2 separate regions of the Homo sapiens genome follow, and region 2 is linked to region 1. The links are contacts of gene promoters, found by promoter capture Hi-C in blood cells and fetal thymus (Javierre and others, 2016). All regions are on one chromosome and are shown on one strand. The core of a region is centred on a gene start or on the middle of the fragment in contact, and the rest is flanking DNA. Distances in the headings are between cores, read along the strand shown. Region 1 holds the start of TRPC3 (transient receptor potential cation channel subfamily C member 3). Region 2 overlaps BLTP1 (bridge-like lipid transfer protein family member 1).

Region 1 (2,987 bases), core at 169-2,668:
TAGCGCGCCGACCGCTCCTTCGTTTAGAAAGAGAGAGAGGGAAAGAAAGAAAGAGAAAAAGAGAGCCCGCGCGCCGGGGCGCGAGCCGCTGACCCTGCACCGCCTGGGAACCGCAGTCAAAGTTATCACTAAAGCGGTTCCCCGGCTGCCCGATGCCCACTCTCTCCCTCAGGGGACCCTATAGGGCTTCGGTTCCAGTTTTACCCCAAATGTGACTGAACCACAGAGAGACGAGGCGCCTGGGCAAACCTTCAACCCACACCCTGTATCGCACTGTCCCCTCCCTACTCCCCACTTCTCTGCCCCCGCCCCCGACGTCCCAGAGCGTCGGAGGGGACCCAAGTCCACGCTGGGACGCCCGGGAGGAGTTCAGGGTTCAAGTGCGCGCCTGGGTCTGTGCACATCTTCCCCTTCCTCGGCCTCCCTGGGTAAGCTCGGGACCCCGGGGTCCGTCTTCCAAGGGGTGCCCAGCCCTGGCAGCAGTCGTGCGAGCTCCTCGGCTCTAATACAGGGAGTGGCTGCTCGCCAGGATGCTTGTCTGAAGTCAGTGTGCCCGCCTGCGGGCTGTTCCGTGTGCTTGAGCCTGGACAGAGCCCCTGCCACGCACTCGGCAGCCCCTGTGTCCCTCCACCGCGCGGGACCGAGGGGGCGAGCCTCCGGCCGAGGTCTGTCCCCTCCAAATCACTCCAAATCGAACTGCCTGGCCGTACCATGTGGGTCTCGGAGGTCCCGGGCTCGACGTGGAGCCGCCCGGCGCGCGCCTTCCCGCCCCCCGCCCGGCACCGCCCTCCGAGGCGCGGGCCGCGGCCGGGCCCGGTACTCACAGGTCCGGCCCGTGGGAGAAGGGCGGCGGGCAGTAGCCGTGCGGCTCCCGCTGCGAGGGCGCCGAGCGCGGCTCCAGCCCCCCGTTGACGCCCCTCCAGCCCCGGCGGCGGCGCTGCGGCTCCGCGCCCTCGTCCTCGCCCTCGTCTTCCTCCTCCTCCGGCGCCGGGAAGGTCACCCTTGCTTGTTCTTTGCACTTCCTGACCTTGGTGGACATCGCGCCGGCTGCGGTCCGAGTGTGGGGGTGCCGGCTGCCGGCCTCCTCCGCCTTCGCGGCAGTGCAGTCTTCCCGCGGCGCCCCTTCACCACCTCCCGCGGCTTCCGGGGCCCCGGGCGGCCCAGGGCGGGAAGGCAGGAGCGGAGAGCGTCGCGGCCCGCGATCCAGCAGTTAGAGGCTAGCGCCGAAGCCGAGCTGCCGCCGCCCACCATCAAACCGTGGGAGCAGCTGCCGCGGCCGTGGCTGCGACGAGGAAGCCCGGGGCCGAGCGGGGCTCTGGTGCTGGGAGAGGCTCTCCAGCCCCGCGGCGGCGGCGATGCCTCCTCGGCGCCCGTCTCCTGTCTCCGACAGCATCACTTGCTAGGACAGCATCGTTACTCAGGGAGAAGGAGAGGGAGGGCGGGAGGGGGAAGAGGAGGGGGAGAATCAATTCCTTATCAGACAGAGCTGGAGAGGAAATCAGACAGACCGCAGGTGGGGAGTAAAGAAAGAGAAACTTCCCCTCCCCACTCTCTTTCTCTTCCAGAGGATCTAGGGCCCTTTTTGCATCTACAGAAACAAGTTTCCTAAGGAAGGGAAAAGGAAATCCACTGGCTTGTTAATTTTCCTGCAGCCAACTCTCCAAATTTGTCTCAAAAAGCATCACTTGTTCGTTGGGTTACTCCCGGTAAGACTTGGTTGAACCTACGGAGGTTTAAGTACCTTCCCCTGAGTGCCTTCGTACTCCATCCAGCCTGGTAATGTTTTAAACGTGCATGATGCTTCAGTTCTTTTAATGACTCTCAAAGGCGTCTAATAAGATTTATATACTTTCCAAGGAAGATTTTTCAGCGAAATGCAGTCTTCTTTTTAAAACACACTCACAAAAATTGCATTTTAGAATTCAAGACCAGTCATTCTTTTGGGAGGAAAGAGGTACAGAATCTTAGCAGGAATCTTAGGGATCAAGGAGTCTCTTGGTCCTTTTAAATAAGAAACCCTTGGCCTAGAGAGACTGAAAAAGGTACTCATGATAGGTGGGTAGTGAGAAAACTTAGATTAGATCCAGAAGAGTGTGTTCTTCCAGACTTTCCCTTGCTTCAAATAGACGGCTTTCTAGCAAGTCCAACTAGGAAAAATCACAAAAATACTGGACACGCTCTGATGAGATAAAATTTATTTAACTGTATCCAATTATACTGTACTTTTTAGAGGAACAATTCTTCCCAAATTTAAGCAAAACACAAGAAAATGTAGCTCCTTTGAATTTAATTCTTAAAAAGTAAATAAAATATTGTGTATTAAATTGGCAAGTCTATATGTTGAAAGAAGCAATAGCATTTATACATCTAATATAGGAAAAACAAAAACAAGTAAATATTGTATAGTGCTTTATGTTTGGAAGTGCTTTTCAGTTGTTAGTACATATGCAAGTGTTAACGGTTTCACAATGTAGGTTAGCAGACCTATTCAGTTTCACCTCTGGAATATCTCTAAAGCAGGACTGCCCTTCTCCACCCGGTACCACCGCCTCAATTCAGGCTCCCCTGCTTCTCCCTGCTATCCAGCCTTTCTGCAGCCCACCTCTCCCCATACTGTTTCATTCTTTGTACTACTGGAAAGACCATGCTTAAAGCAAAGTCTGATCACGACTTTTCTCTATAAAAATCTCTGGTGGCTTCCCACTACTTTCAGGTTAAAATCCAAGTTTTCAATCTCTCCTCCCATCCTTTTTCATACACATTCTAACTGCAGTTACCCTGAACGCTCAGTCATCAACTGACATGCTAGATACTTTCCCATTTCTCTGCCTTTGTCTATGGCATTCCTGTCACTGAAATGTCTCTCTTCATTCATCTGCTACACTGACTTTTCCTTAAAGAACTAGGTTAGCTGTGGCCTCCAGTCTGACAGCCCTCTTGGGTCCCAGTGGATTTTCCACAGGCTCTGGTCCTTACCCACACTGTGT
Region 2 (3,339 bases), core at 157-2,656, 240 kb after region 1:
AAGAACAAGAACCCAATCGAAAATTGAAAGGTTCAGTATCATACTTGAATTTTATTAAACTCTAGCATTTAAACATTTGCCTTTATTAGAATATCATTGAGGCTATGCACCTAAACAGAGCCTAATATTTCTTTGCAAATTAACTGAAACTTTTAGTAACATAAATAATTATATAATTATTTTAGAAATTGAGATAATATAGAATATGTAATCTAAAAAAGTCCCGTTCTATTCCCTTGCACACAAATCCTACTTTTCTCCGTATTAATAACTAATGTTATCAATTTAGTTTTTATCCTTTTGAATGTATGTACATAAATGTATACATACATATTTAAGGTGCTTATAAAATACATGATTTTGTTCTGTGTGTTTCTAAACATATGTGTTTAGAATATGTGCCTCATATAGTGTGTATTGTTCTGTAATTTGCTTTTTATGTAGCAGTTTGTCTGTAAGATTGTTCCATATCTGTATATGTAGGTCTGCTTTTAAAAATACATATCTGTGTATGTAGGTCTACCTACAAAATTATTCTGGAACAGGATCAGCAAACTTAGACCTATACTATAGCACAAGTCTAGCCCACTGCCTGTTTTGTATATAGAGTTTTATTGGGACATAGCCACACCTATTTATTTATATATTATCTATCTGTTTAGTGAATTGCTGTGAAATTTTGATTTCTTAACATTTGTGTACTTTGTATATGGCCAGTTTTCTTACTCTTGGCTTATCATTTTCATTTCATTAAGGGAAAATTAATTTGGCACAAGGCATTTGGGTGAGGGAAGGAAGAGGAGCAACTGGATTGTTTTCAGAAGTGCTTAAAACAGTAGACAAACATCAAAGTGACTTGTACCTTAATCATTTATGTTTAATAATAACTTTGGCTGTCTTATAAAATGTCGTATAGTAACATAATGGGCAAAATGGTAGATGTAATGACAGCATATCATCCCTTATAGTTTTGTCATTAAAGCTTGTTATTCTAAAAACATAGTTTTGTTATAATAGCTTATCCATCTAAAAGTTGATATGATAAGAGTGCTCCAGTAGACAGCTGTAGGAATATTAGTATTCCTTCAGATGATCATTGTTCTGTTTACTGAAGTAGTCACTAGATGTATTTGGAAAGGTAAACTGAAACTGTGAGGTATGGTATTGTGAGGAAGTGAACTATGTCCTCAGGTATTTAAGGTTTTCTTATTCATGTCAGTTTTATTTTTTCTTGTTAGAGTTAAAGTAAAAACAGAATCCCAAGACCCCACATCTTCATGGAGATCACTTATTCCAGTCATAAAGGTCAATGTGAGCACAGTAAGTAAATTCTGCTACAATTACTGTTTCATGGGGTAGTAATGTAGAACTTTTAATTTTTGCAAATATGATTTTAATGTAAGAAAATTAAATAGTTTTGTGGAGTTTTTTTTAGTTCCCATTTCTGTATAGTGTGAGTGAAATAATTATTTTAAAATACTGTTTTCTGATAAATTTGTGTTTAAATTTCTTTAAGTACTTAAATTTTCTTTTAACTACTGGTTTAAATTGACCAGTGGAATAGTTTAAATAGCACATAGTCCTAAAGTGGAATCATTAAGCTGTTGTTTGAAAATGTTTGTTATTAGTTTAGCTAAAGAAAGAAATATGGCCAGAATAGCATGATATAATATCTCTTATCTGTTTATTTTTTTTTTTTTAGGGACGTTTGGCCTTTGGAAATCACTACCAGCCGCAAACTCTGTGCATCAACTTTGATGATGCTTTCTTAACTTATACTACAAAACCACCTTCAAGTCATCTTGACCAATTCATGCATATTGTGAAAGGAAAGCTTGAAAATGTTCGAGTCATGCTTGTTCCTAGTCCAAGATATGTTGGTCTTCAAAATGATGAGTAAGAAAATCTTATAAAAATAATAAAAAACTTCTTATAGGTAATACAGATACAGCTAGAAACTTTAACATCCTTTTACTTTTTTTGCTACAAGTTGTACAAAAATTAGGTATATTTCTCTATTAAAGCAGTTAACAATGTAGTCCTTCTTTATAGGATAAATGGATATGCTATCCAGTGATAAACTCTAATTTTAAATATTTTTCTGCATGATTATAACTATAATTTTTTTATCCTTTTCTCCTTCTAATTGTATTTTGGAAACTTACTTTGTGCAATTAGTTCCTGTTTGTATGTTAGGAGATACACATTACAGGTAGGTTTTTGTTTCTAGAAGATGTGACTAAAGAGTAAATTGAACAGATTCATTGCAGTGGAATACCACTTTGAGTTATTGAAAGTCGAAAATTGAATCGAAATTACTCTTGGAAAATTTGGTGAAGTTAAGATGGTATAGTTTTGAGACCCACTTGACATTTCTTTAAGTTCCAAACTGTCAGTTTTCCATCTAGCTTTCCATTTTTTTTTTTTTCCTTCAGTGAAGTAGCTGCTTGTATTTATAAGACTCATTATAGGAATGATGTACACTAGACTCAGTGTGATGGGATGCTGAGTGGGAGATGGGCTCTTGTGATTTTTATGTTTTTTCTCAATTTTTGTGTGTGTAAAGGATACTCTGGTTGAATTTAAGTGTTCATATGGAGAGTTTTCAGTACAGTGTCTCAGCTTTTATCTTTGTGTGTAGGTACCTTATGAGGTTTTATGTGAAACATGATTATTCCTTTTTAGTTGTAACTCTTGGCTGGCCTGGTATTCGATTTTCCAGGATTTGGCTAGAATGATAGAAAGAGGGTTTTTCCTTTTTGAGTATCGCGGTGACTGTGGGTCTTCCTGGCCTCACTCTTCAAGATCATGGACTTGGTTAAGAATCTTCTGGAATGTGGACTGTGCACACAAATGTGTATGAGTGAAGGTATAATACTGAATAAATCAGGATTTTTTTGAAAAATTATAGAGAGTAAGATGAAAAAGTGTCTTGCTATTAATAATTTGTATAAAAAGATTTAAAATTGTATTTTTCACTTAAGTGTGGAGATTACATGATGATATTAAACATTAAGCTTTGTGATTTAATACATATTTAGAAAAAAATTGCAAGTTTTTGCATTTAATATCATCTAATGATTGAGAAGTTAATTTTGATATGCAAGAAGATATTGTGATGTATGTATGACAAAGAGAAAAGTTGTTTAATCAAAGCAAGCAAAGATTAATGGTTTCTGGGAAATTATTGATGGTAGAAAAACGTTCATTCCAGAGTTAGAGTTCACGATGTTTGCTCTAGATTTATTTCAAGTTGATTAAATATTCATGGAAATAGGTAATAAGAAGATAAAAATGATAACTTTTTTATTATTTAATGTTTTTGAATGATTATAGTTT

The links. Contacts are between HindIII fragments. The CHiCAGO score rates a contact against its expected background, and 5 or more counts as called.
Region 2: a fragment that was not itself captured here is called in contact with the fragment with the promoter of TRPC3 in region 1 in 3 of 17 cell types (naive CD8 T cells, naive CD4 T cells and non-activated CD4 T cells); the score reaches 5.6 in naive CD8 T cells.

What each region holds. Positions count from the first base shown.
Region 1 is chr4:121,950,642-121,953,628 of GRCh38, forward strand. TRPC3 (transient receptor potential cation channel subfamily C member 3) reads right to left here and starts at 1,419. Exons shown (of 12, transcript NM_001130698.2): 1 at 825-1,419. The coding sequence starts at 1,039. It overlaps LOC102724158 (a long non-coding RNA gene), which reads left to right and starts at 341. Exons shown (of 3, transcript XR_427598.4): 1 at 341-428. RefSeq lists a silencer at 1,010-1,279. The HindIII fragment of the contact is 12,740 bases long and covers 1-2,987 here.
Region 2 is chr4:122,186,193-122,189,531 of GRCh38, forward strand. It overlaps BLTP1 (bridge-like lipid transfer protein family member 1), which reads left to right. Exons shown (of 88, transcript NM_001384125.1): 7 at 1-30; 8 at 1,239-1,320; 9 at 1,703-1,896. Among named protein-coding and RNA genes, the nearest start is that of BLTP1, 36 kb to the left of the region's middle. The HindIII fragment of the contact is 852 bases long and covers 981-1,832 here.